Regions from separate parts of the Homo sapiens genome. Here region 1 is linked to region 2. The links are contacts of gene promoters, found by promoter capture Hi-C in human tissues and cell types (Jung and others, 2019). All regions are on one chromosome and are shown on one strand. The core of a region is centred on a gene start or on the middle of the fragment in contact, and the rest is flanking DNA. Distances in the headings are between cores, read along the strand shown. Region 1 has its middle 39 kb from the start of FAM180A. Region 2 holds the start of FAM180A (family with sequence similarity 180 member A).

The links. The method cuts DNA at HindIII sites, captures the fragments that hold promoters and counts their contacts. A contact is called where the count stands out against the background at its distance.
Region 1: a contact is called between a fragment that was not itself captured here and the fragment with the promoter of FAM180A in region 2, in 1 of the 25 tissues and cell types used here (small bowel).

The regions. Positions count from the first base shown.
Region 1 is chr7:135,784,415-135,790,946 of GRCh38, forward strand. No RefSeq gene overlaps it. Among named protein-coding and RNA genes, the nearest start is that of FAM180A, 39 kb to the left of the region's middle. RefSeq lists a silencer at 154-336. The HindIII fragment of the contact is 7,973 bases long and covers 1-5,647 here.
Region 2 is chr7:135,744,929-135,750,753 of GRCh38, forward strand. It overlaps FAM180A (family with sequence similarity 180 member A), which reads right to left and starts at 3,885. Exons shown (of 4, transcript NM_205855.4): 1 at 3,577-3,885. The coding sequence starts at 3,652. RefSeq lists an enhancer at 323-1,522. The HindIII fragment of the contact is 9,123 bases long and covers 1-5,825 here.

The sequences.
Region 1 (6,532 bases), core at 411-2,910, 37 kb after region 2:
CTACTTCTGTAACAAACCAGCTCTTGAACTTCCTTTCTTTGAGACTCAGCTTTCCAGAGAGGCCCCCCAAGAGTCACATTGCACTCGCTTGCCTCCGAGCTCCTTCAGCCCCTGTGGGCACAGGTTCTATGTCTCAGGTGCTTTATGGGAAAACAGGGCGTGCGATTGTTCTCCTCCTGGTCATGCCTAACTGTCCGTGGACCGGATGGTTAAGATGATCCACTTAAAGATTTGCTAGCAGAACTCACATCTCATGGACAGTCCAAGCACTTCCTAGGCTTCCCTAATTAGCCTCCTGCGTTGGCTGATGGCAGAAGGAAACATTTGCACCCTGTTGCCTCCTAAGCATTGGTTGGTCAGATTTCCTCTCTCCCACCTCATCCTTTATGTGTTGAATGTTTGCTGAGCACCTACTTTGTGCCAGGTGATACATTCTAGTCTTTAAGGATTCACATGAATGAAGTGCACCCCTAGCCTTCAAGAGCTTACAGTTTAGGAGAAAGTGGACACGCAGAAGACAATGATAGTACAGGGTGATTAATGCTTTGATAACAGGCACAGGAAATTATGAAGGAACATAATGACAGGCACTCAATGCTGTAGAGAGGAGTCAGAGAAGGCTTCTTGAAAGAGGTGACAACTTTCTTGAATCTTAAGAATGAATAGGGCTTAGGCAGGTGAGGAAGGCAAAATAGTGCTATGGAGTGGGGAGGAAGGTGGAAGAAGACTCCAGCCTTCCCAGCCCCTCCTTTGCTCTCTCCTTTGTCTCTGGTACCTTAGGAAACCTGGCTGGGAATATAGAAAAAACCACAGCAGTAGCTTAGCTAGAAGGAAGGAGGAGGAGGAGAAAAAGAAGAGGAGGAGGAAGAAGAAGAGAGGATGGAGGAAGAGGAGGAAGAGAAAGAAAAGAAGAAGAAAGAAGGAGTAGGAGTAGGAGAAGGAAGAAGTGGCACACAAGTCTATAGAGTAGGGTAGATCAACAGTAGGCATCCGTGAAGGACTAGACAGATGCCTCAACTTCTTCATTTTAACCCAGAGAGTGACAGCCCAGGTCAAGATGTTTTGTTGCTTCAATGGCTTAAATAGCCACGGTTGTCATAGATATTCATTCCTACATTTGCCTATGTTTGCGGTATCTCAGACATAAGAACTAACCATACCATGTCCAATAGTAAGCTCACAAGTAGTGGAGCACCCACGAAGTTAAAATGTTGCTTCTAAGAGACTGTAGTACACCAGCATCACATTTAAAAGTACAAATTATGGAGAACCCAGTGAGAGATGTCAGGTGCATTTGTCATTTGTGTTCTTTTTCCAAAAGGACTTTTTTAAAATCTTAAAATATAGTTGCAAATTATATAGTTGTATCTTCATAATATTGAGTTTGCACAAACTTATTCAAAGTTTACTATGCAGTTTGGGAAACTAGCTTTAGTTTCCCAAAGAAAGACTTTCTTGGGCCTGGCTAATTTTGCTTTTTTTTTTTTTTTTTTCCCAGTTCATGGCTGGTTGGTGTGGGGCTGCAAAGCAGGGACTGTGAGCTGACAGTTCCTTGTTTCTCTCCTAGGAGTAGGGGCCTCATGGGTTGAGAGGGTAGAATGCCAGACAGTGGCCCCTACATGACGTGCTTAGAGCAGCCTAGTTCATGTTATGATGTTTTCTACGAGTGGCTTTAACAGCTTGTGTTAAGCAAGGGAAACATCATTTAATCTCTCTCTCTCTCTTTTTTTTTTTTTTTTTTTTTTACCATATTCTTTTAAAAAATTACCATTTGCTTTTAAAAATAGGTAATACTTGCACAATTCAAAAGTGAAAACTATACATGGATATAGTAAAATGGCTGCTTCATAAACCTGTTTCCAGTTTTTCCAGTTTCTATTCGTATAGCAGAAACACAGTATTATGTAGTGTTTTGGGGGTATACTTCAAGAGGTATTTATTTTATTTATTTATTTTTTTGAGACAGAGTCTCACCCTGTCACCCAGGTTGGAGTGCAGTGGCGCGATCTCGGCTCACTGCACCCTCCGCCTCCCAGGTCCAAGTGATTCTCCTGCCCCAGCCTCCTGAGTAGCTGGGATTATAGGCAGGTGCCACCACGCCCAGCTAATTCTTTGTATCTTTTGTAGAGATGGCATTTCACCATGTTGGCCAGGCTGGTCTTGAACTCCTGGCCTCATGATCCACCCACCTCGGCCTCCCAATCAAGAGGTATTTTTAAAGTGGGTACAAACAAATATGAATCTATATTCTTTCCTCTTCCAACTTTTAAAAAACAACTAGCAGTGTTCTCTACACACTCTCTTGTACCTTACTTTTTTCTCTTGACATCGTATCTTGAAGACATTTCTACATTAGTTCTTGATAAGTTTGTTCATTCCTTTTTAGAGCTGCATAGCATTCTATTTTGTGGCTGTGCCACAGTTTTTAAAATCGGTGTCTTCTTGATGTACACCTAAGCTGATTACAGTCTTTCGCTCTTGTGTACAATACTTCTGGATAACATTGTAGGTAGGTCACTTTGCACATGTTAAAAAAATAACGGTAGGATAAATTCCTGGAAGTGGAATTCTTGGGCCAAAAGGAACATGCCTTTCTGATTTAATAAATTTTGCCAAATTGCTTCCAAACAGTTTGTATCAGTTTACACTCCCACTAGCCATAAGTTACAGGCTTCTGCCTTACTAAACTTTTGTATTCTTGCCAACTTGTTAAGTGGGAAATTGGCATCTCATTGGCTTTAATTTGCATCTTTTATTATGACAGAGGTAGAACATTTGTATTTCCTTTTGGTGGGCTCTCCTTTGTCCAGTTTTATTTGCGTCTTTGGCCTTTTTCTTGTCAATTTGTAAGAATTTTTCGTATAATGGGATGTGAGTTGCAAATATTTTTCAATTTGTCATTTCTCTTTGTCTGTAATATGTCATTTGACTGTTTTATTTTTATCCATGCAGATGTTTTAATTTTTATGGTGTACAATTTTTATATCTTTTATTTCACGACATCTGGATTTTGAATCATTCAGGGAGGGTCTTACCCATTCTGAGCTTATAAAAGAATTCTCCATGTTTTCTGGTAGGTTGCTTTCTTGGTCATTACATTTAAATTCTCGTTCCGTTTGAAAATTATCCTGGTGTATGGCATAAGGTATGGTTTAAAAACATTTTCCAGAAAGTGTATCCAGTTGTAATAGCACCATTCATTGAAAAGTTCATGTTTCTCCCACCGAGTTCCCAAACTTATCATATATCAAATCTTTATGTAATTGAGAATATTTCTGTGTTTTCTATGTTGTTACATTAGTCTGTCTGATGATTTATAGTCTAGTGCCACATAATTTAACAATTTGAGGCTTAACAGCATTTTTTTTTTTTAAAGAGACAAGATCTTACTCTGTTGCCTCGGCTGGAGGGCAGTGGCATAATCATAGCTTACTGCAGCCTTGAACTTCTGGGCTCAAGTGATCCTCCCACATCAGTCTCCCAAGTAGCTGGGAGTGTAGGCACACACCACCATGTCCAGCTAGTTTTATTTAATTTTTGATAGAGCTTAAGTCTTGCTATGTTGCCCAGGCTTGTCTTGAACCCCTGGCTTCAAGCGATCCTCCCACTTTGGTCTCCCAAAGTTTTGGGACTACAGGCATGAGCCACTGCACCCAGCCAACAGTGTACATTAATATCACTCTTTGCTCTTGCTTTTCAGAATTTTCCTACTTGATTCCTCTTGGAGGACTTTAGAATTATCTTGTCTAGCTCCAGAAAATGAGAAGTCTATTGGTAGTTATATTGGTATAATGTTTAATTTGTGAATTTCTTTAGAGAGTATTGATATATCACAACACAGTTCATCTATTTGTTCAAATCTTATTTCTTTTTTCCTTCAGAACTGTTTTCAAGTTTGTTTCCTATAGCTGTGGAATTTTTGGGTTAAGTTTATTTTATCTTCTTTCTCTCTGGTTCCTATTATAAATGGAGGCTTTCTCCCTTATTATATCTTCTGACTGGTAATTACTTTGTTTATTAATTCTGTAGCCTGCTATGTTATTAAATATTCTTATTGTTTACTATAGGTTTCCTGTCAGTTTTCTTGAGTTTTCTGGTGTATCATCATAGAATTTTTAAATAGTGATGACTTCTTCCTTTCCAATTTTTATGTCCCTAACTACTTTCTCTTGTCTTGTTCTGGGCAAGTTCATAGAATGGCTCATTGGTAATACACATGTCAAGCAAGTTGGCTGTGATGGAGAGAGTTGGGGCGCATTTGCATAAGGAACACAGGTGTCTCTAGGGAGGGACTGCATTGAGACCTTAAAACTTTCTGGATAAAGTGGAATGTTGTTACAACATATGTTATAAATGGAATTGGCCCAGCAGATGCCAGAGGGCAGGAGAGGAGCACAGGAGGCTCTGAGGGAGAAGTCACCATAGGATGGGAGTCTGGCCCAGGGTTTAGAGAGGGCCACGGTGTTTGGCTGATTCTGGAACTATCCTTGACCTGTCTATCCTAGAGCCATGAATGTGACTTTGGGTATAAAATGGCTCTGTGTGTGTGTGTGTGTGTGTGTGTGTGTGTGTATGTGTATGTGTGTGTGTGTCTGTCTGTCTGTCTGTCTTCCTGTGGATATGCATGGGAAGAGTGGGTTATTAAGAACTGTAACACTTGAAGCACAGTATCTTTCCCCCTTTCACAGGACGTACCATGGCTGTGGACCCCACTGGGGGATGACGGGCCTTTGTATAGTCCTTGGTGGCACTGCACCTTGGGCTGTCTTTATGTCTATGGGATGGAGCCTCCATTACCCTACCTGTGACTCCCAGGATAAATGGATCTATTTTGGGCTCCTGGGCTCCTGGATTGGAAGTAGCATCATTTAGGAGCAGAGGCATCAAGGATGGAGAACAGGGCTTTTGGGCAGACTGAGTAGTGCACAGAAGCTCTCTACCTCCAGACTTCCAACCCACAGAGCCCCATGCTAGAGTCAAAGTGTTCCTTCTCTTCCCACCCTGCACAAGTGGCATTAGTGGATGTCATACAAGGTCCTTTCATAGCAGCCATACTGCTTATTAGTTTACTGTGTGTTTGCTGACATTTAGTGAATTCTCACTATTATCACTAGACAGGAAGGATGATTAGAAGGACAAAGAGTAGATCAAGTGACACATGAAATGCTTGCCAAGTAACAAGGAGACAAGGAAAAGTGGCTAATGAAACCAAAGAAATTTGCAGCTGTGACAAGAGGATGACACCATTGTCAGAAGTCTTGGGTTAATGTGGGTTCATGTGACAACTAGGAGTGTGTTCAGAATCTTAAATTCTGTATGTGATAGAAGTGTTGCTGCTGAAGCATCGCAAGTGTTAGATGGCCACACAAGTTCAAGGCCTGTTCAAGCCGGCTCAACATCAAAGAGCGAATTCGAGGGAGTGAGAGCAGATACGGTGCCCTGGAGATCACAGCTGCTGAGAATTTTAAGATACTTGCAGTGGCCATCCAGAAAGGGGGGTCTCTCCCTCAACAGGTTTTTAGTGTAGGTGACATTGGCTTAGTCTCAGGAAGATTGCCCCAAGGGACATTTATCATCCACAAGTGTTGTGAAAGCTTCACATTGTTGAATTACAATCCCATCCGTGGCAGTGACTCCAGAGATGGCCTGTTAACTTTACACAAATGGTCCTTTGAAGTCTGATCTGCTTTTAGCAGGAAAGCTTGTGTCCCTGGCTGCCATGTGGTGAGAGCAGCCTGAGCTGCCCTTTGGTCTGCATATGCAACCCTGAGGTTTCTTGAAATATTTTTTGGAAGGGAGTTCTGGAAGTAGGCCTTGACTTCTTACTAACTTGGGCAGCTGGGGGGTTAGAGGCGTTATAAGAAAGTGACTTTCTTTTGCATTGTAGGCTGGTGAAGTGGAACATAGCGGTTATATCTTGCCCTTTCCTAACTGTGTTAACTTTCTGGGTACCGTGTTCTCGTTGCAACGTGTAACAGAGGCAATGTACTAGACCCCAAAATATGCAATGATGAAGCCTTCTGATTTTGCAGACACCTTATTTCTCAAGAGAGGGAGAGCCACGGTTGTGAAATCACCAAAACTGATGGGAAGCTCCGCTGGTGGCGGCCCTCTCAAACAGCAGATGCATGACTCCCGATTCTCAGCCAGGATCTGGTGCCTCACGTGCGAGGATGAAAAGAACCAGAAGACTTGGTCAGGAGCCTTCAATGATGGCCACATATCAGAATTTTAAGAGCTCATGAAGTACTTATAAATCCACGTTGCTCAGGCCTCTTCTATTAGAAATCCTAAATCAGTGGGTCTGGGTTGGGGCCCAGCGAATGACTCAGATGTCCTGCCAGGATTAGAAACCACTGATCTAGACTGGTCCCAACACAGTCTCTAGGGTGCTGAGTGACCTTTGGGAAGTCACTTCACTTCCCTGGACGGTGGCTTCCTCACCTCTTAAATAAGAACTTGGACTGGATGTATTTAAACCTGGCTGCAAGTCAGCAATTTCCAGGGAGCTTCAGAAATACAGATTTCCCAG
Region 2 (5,825 bases), core at 2,635-5,134:
CCATCATCCAGGCTGGAGTGAAGTGGCGCAATCATAGCTCTCTGCATCGTTGACCTCCTGGGCCTAAGTGATCCTACCACCTTGATCTCCTTGCCTTAAGTGATCCTACCACCTTAACCTTCTGAGTAGCTGGGACTACAGGCATGTGCTGCTACACCCAGCTAATTTTTTTTTTAACTTTCCCCTGAGTCACTGGAATTATAGGCGTGCACCACCGTGCCCGGCAGTCAGTGAGTACTTACTGAGTACTGACCACAGGCCTTTCCCTCATGGAACATTCATGACTGAGGACACACACAACCCTTAAATGGACACCTGAAAATGACATAAGGTCCACCAAAAAATGGAAGGGCTGCTCTATTAAACTACTTAAAAAATAACTTGTATGTATTCAACAAAAGCATAGCTATTCATATCCTTAATAGGTGCATATTTCATTCATATCCTTAATAGGTGCATAATTCTTTCTCAAGTCTGGCTAGTCCTCCCCCTTCCAGTGGTGCCCTGGCAGGACCTGGTATGTGCTGGGACGTGGGCCACCTGTGTGTGTGTGTGTGTGTTTCTGTGTGTGTGTATGTGTGTGTGTGTGTAGATGTGGCTTTCCTGGCTTGGCCACAGGTGAGTCATTTGGTCTTCATCAAACTGGTGGGGCTGGAATGGGTGATCCTGGATCCTGGCATGGAAAGCTGCCTCCCAGGGTGGAATCCTAGAGAGCGCTTAGGGAAAGGCTGGGAGGATGGTAGGAAAAAGACAGTGCTAACAACAAGGCGCATATTGCCTGTGGGTTTACATCTACATTTACATTTTGGAGCAGGAGGGTGGGAGGATGGACACGGGGTAGTGGTGGGGCTGGGGGCCAAAGGGCAGGGGGTGGAAGAGGAAAAGCTCTGGAAGAGATTGCCCTAAGACTGTTTCCAAAGGGAGTACTTTGAATTGAGGCTGGAGGTAGGGTGGGGGTAAGGATGAAGGTGAAATGAATAATACATTTGGAAAAACTTACTCATTTGGGTGTGACTCCTATTCAGTCTTGAAAAAAAAGATGGCAAGAATTGTGTATTTCTTTTATAATTAGAAAAAAATGTTAAAAATGAAAAAAAAATCAACTACGCGGAAGACATTTGATGATGGTTGGAGGGACTCTGTATCATTTGTTGACTCAGCGCTGACTTGAGCCATTAATCTAGCACGTCACATCCGCTGCCTCATAGTGACCTCGGTTTGGCTGGCTTTGAGTCAGTGGATTGTGAACTCACTGTGGAAAGACCTTCCCCAATGCGGAAGGACATGGCCCGGAGAAGTTGCTCCCAGAATGTTGCTGTAGATTCCCCTGTTAAGAGCCTTAAACTTCCTTTAATGAAAAATTTTTATTTTTCAAAAACTGGTAGGCAATAGCTAATATTTATATTGTGCTTTGTCATTTACAAAGTATTTTCATCTATATTTTTGAATATGACCCTCACAGTAATAGCATGAGGGTTTTATTGATGTGATGGATGTTAATGTCACCCGTTAGTGAACTAAAGCTCAGAGAGGTTAAGAGACTTGTCTGAGATCACATTGCCAAATAGAGATGGAACTTAAACCAGGACCCTTGCAGAGTAGCTCATGATGTGGCTATCGTGTTTACAAACCATATTGCAAGTCAAATAATCCCTTTTGGCTTTGTAATAGCCTGTGCCTTAGGAAGAGTGGGCACTGTTACCCTGTTTAATAAGCAAATCCCCAGTGTGACAAAGAGGGGAGTGACAGAACCCAACTCCAAGATCTCTTTGCTTTTTACTTCCAAGTGCTACCTCAAAGTTTGTGCACACAATGAAAAGGGAGGTGTGAAAACAGGGTGACTACAGTCAATAACAATTTAATTGTACATTTAAAAAGAACTAAAAGAGGGCCAGGCACTATGGCTCATGCCTATAATCCCAGAACTTTGGGAGGCTGAGGTGGGCAGATCACTTGAGGTCAGGAGTTTGAGAGCAGCCTGGCCAACATGGTGAAACCCCATCTCTACTAAAAATACAAAAATTAGCCAGGCGTGGTGGTGCGCACCTGTAACTCCAGCTACTCAGGAGACTGAGGCACGAGAATCGCTTGAACCTGGGAGGCGGAGGTTGCAGTGAACCAAGATTGCACCCCTGCATTCCAGCCTGGGCAACAGAGTGAGACTCCGTCTCAAAAATAAATAAATAAGTAAATAAATAACAAATAAAAGTAACTAAAAGGGTATCACTGGATTGTTTGTAACACAAAGGCTAAATGCTTGAGGGGATGGATACCCCATCTTCCATGATGTGACGTGCCTGTATCAAAACATCTCATAGGCCCCATAAATATGTATACCTACTATGTGCCCACAGAAATTAAAAATTAAAAATTAAAAAAAGAAAAGGGAGGGGTGTACGTGTGTATGTGCATGTGTATGCAAGGTTGTTATGAGAAAAATGAAGAATGCTGTATTATTTGTTTCTGGGCAACGATCACTTCACAGCTCAGCTCAAAAGACTTATATCCCTGTTAGAGATGTAAGTCCCTAATGTCACGTTTAACCATGAGGAAATAAAACCCAGCATAAGTACAGTAGCTTTTGCCTCCCTCCCATTTCAGATCCTTCTCTCGCGCTGCTCTATCCCCACTCCGGCCACTCCTTCCTTCCCTGACACTGTCCTTGAGAAGCAAGCAGGAGGCGCATCCATGCCACCATGCCAGTTGCCTTCCAATTTTGCATCTCTAGAAACACCTACTGGCCTGACTTGAAGGAGCCTGTTCTTCTTGCGGTTCTTTCTAGGAGAGTGAACTCAGTTGACTTTAGGCAGTGGAAAGATTTCCGTTCATATTGGTGAAGAGTGGGCAGTGCCGTGGGTCCCTCCTTTCCTAACAGTGATAAACTCTGGCTCGAGGTGCTCCCAGTGTCTACCAAGCAGAGCCACTCCCAGGGAAATGGAGAAAAGATGCCATCCAGCTAGGAGGAACTACATCCTGAGGGGGAGGAAGTCAGTGATAAGAGAACAGCCTTTGCTGGGGCCCCTTCCTTTGTGAGGAGGTGGCGGAGCTGGTGGGTGCAGTGGAGGTTGAAGGGTTGCTCTCCTCACCTGCCCACCTCTGGCTGCAGAGATGCATCCCCTCCCGGTGAGGAGGCAACGTTCTGCAGAGCTTCTGCTCTGGTTCCCCCAGGGAGCAGGCCTTTGGCATCCCAGTGCCCATCACTCCATCATTTTAGCAGCAGGTCTCAGCACCTGCTCTCCAGACGGTCTGGCCCAACTGCTGCAGGTGGTGGGGGCAGTCGAAGAAATGAGTTCTACTTTCTATGAAGCAGAAATGAGTTCTCTCTGGGATGCCAGAAAGGGGTACTCTCTGGGTTCTCCACCTCAACCTAATTCCCTCAGGAGCTTTGATTTTTTCCAGTGTCATTTCCCCATCACCCTCTAAGAAGGGGGAACACGTCAAGAAGCATCAAGGAATTGACAGAGATTAGACAAAAGGAGAGTGCGGGGCTTCTAATGTCCTTCCCTCCAAATTTTGAATTGCATTGAAGAAAGTATAATGAGCATCAAACAAACAAATGAATAAAAAGCAACTCACCCCTGCTCCACCTGTGGCACATAGAAGCCTCAGCATTGTAATACAACAGCAGAAGCAGCAACATCTTCCAATGCATCTTGTCCTTCAAAAGGTGAAAAATCGACCCTCAAGCCCAGTGGAACCCCAGTAGCTGCAGGTATGCCCGTGCCGTTCTTCCCAGTGAGATGATGGAGTGCTTCCCTCCCTTCCTTTTGCAGACGTGCAGAAATGCCTACTCTGCCTCAGAAGGCTGGAGGCTGAAGGCTGCGTCCTGGGTGGGACAGGAGTCGGTACCTCTCTTCATTTGACGCTCTCTGGGATTGGGGAACTGGCCTTCCACAGAGAGACTCTGTTTTTGAGCACATCTGGAGTGACTCACGGGGCATGTGATCTCCTTGGCAGTGGGGCGGATAAATATAATTTCTGTACTTGAGTTCCATGTGTTGGATGCACCCACTGGAATTTTTCTTTAACAAACAGACCCGCGGAACTTGTTAGAGAGCCCGGCGAAGAGTTGGCTGCTCTCCCCGTCCACACATACGATACCAGAGCCAGGGGCGAGGGCTGGAGGCAGAGTTGGGAGCCTGCCTGGCAGACACCAGGGCTGGTTGAGCCTAAGTTGCCTTCAGGACAGCAAAATCATTGTGGTGCCTGGGCTGAGTGTCACTGTTGCCTGGCCCTGGAGCTAGACTAGGACATTGGCGCCTAGAGCCTGTGTCTGGTCTGCCCAGGTTCTGGGTGGGTGGGGAGTTGGCAGGTTGTGACCGAGCCGAAGTGGAGAGGTGACATGGTGCATCGGTATTGTCTGTGTGAACGTGCGTAGGTAATGATCCAGGAGCCCACGGGGACCCCCAACTCACATTGGTGATGCTCCCATTTCTGGGCTGTGCCTAGACCTGGGGCCAAGCCCCACAACTCACATTGGTGATGCTCCCATTTCTGGGCTGTGCCTAGACCTGGGGCCAAGCCACTTTGATTTTCCCAAGCAAAATGGGAGTGTTTTTCCATAGTCGTTGTAATATACTGCCATAGACACCTTAATTCTTTCCCAATCACTTCCTCAACTTCTCTGAAATGATAGGGAATGCTAAAGCTTGAAGGACACTTAAAGATTATGTCATCCTGTGGGTTTTCCAGTTTGTGGAGGTGGTGCCCAGGGTGAATGGGCTCCCCAAGAGGGCTCCTCAAAGCTCTACTCTACTGCAAAAGCTCCTCTTTTATCTGCTATAAGAAGTTGTTTGGGAGCCGGGCATGGTGGTTCACGCCTGTAATCCCAACACTTTGGGAGGCCGAAGTGGGGGAATTGCTTGAGGCCAGAAGTTCAAGACCAACCTAGAGAAAATAGACCCTGTCTCTACAAAAAATTAAAAAATTAGCTGGGCGTGGTGGCATGTGCCTGTAGTCCTAGTCACTCAGGTGGCTGAGGCAGAAGGATTGTTTAGGCCCAGGAGTTCAAGGCTGCAGTGAGCTATGATCACAACACTCTACTCCAGCCTGGGTGACAGAGTAAGAACTTTCCTCTTAAAAAAATTAAAAAAAAAACAACCAGTTTTTTTGGGGGAAAAAATACTAGACTACAACATTTGAAAACCAGTACGCTCACTAATATTAATAATAGCTATTAGGTGCTTAATTTGCTTCAGACAGCGTGCTAGGTGCCCTCCTTGCATTAACTGATTTAATGCATCCACCGAACTAGGAGGTTAGGGCACTAGCCAGCAGCACTCTCCAACAGAAATGTAACGTGAATCACAAACGTCACTTAACATTTTCTACAACTCATACTAAAAAAAAGTAAAAAGAGGCTGGGTGCAGTGGCTCACGCCTGTAATCCTAGCACTTTGGGAGGCCGAGGCAGGCGGATCACCTGAGGTCAGGAGTTCGTGACCAGCCTGGCCAACATGGCAAAACCTCGTCTCTCCTAAAAATACAAAAATTAGCCGGGCATGGTGGTGCACACCTGTAATCCCAGCTACTCGAGAGGCTGAGGCAGGAGAGTCTCTTGAGCCTGCGAGGTGAAGGTTGTGGTGAGGCGAGATGGTGCCACTGCACTCTAGCCTGGGCAACACGAGTGAAACTCCATCTCAAAAAAATAAAAAATAGAAAAAGTAAAAAGAAACAAGTGCAATGAATAGTAATAATATCTTTCATTTAATTCAATATATCCAAGATATTATCATTTCTACAAGTAAGTGATATAGTATTAGCAAGATATTTTATATATATATATATAATATTTACATGAGGTCTTTGAAATCTAATGTGTATTT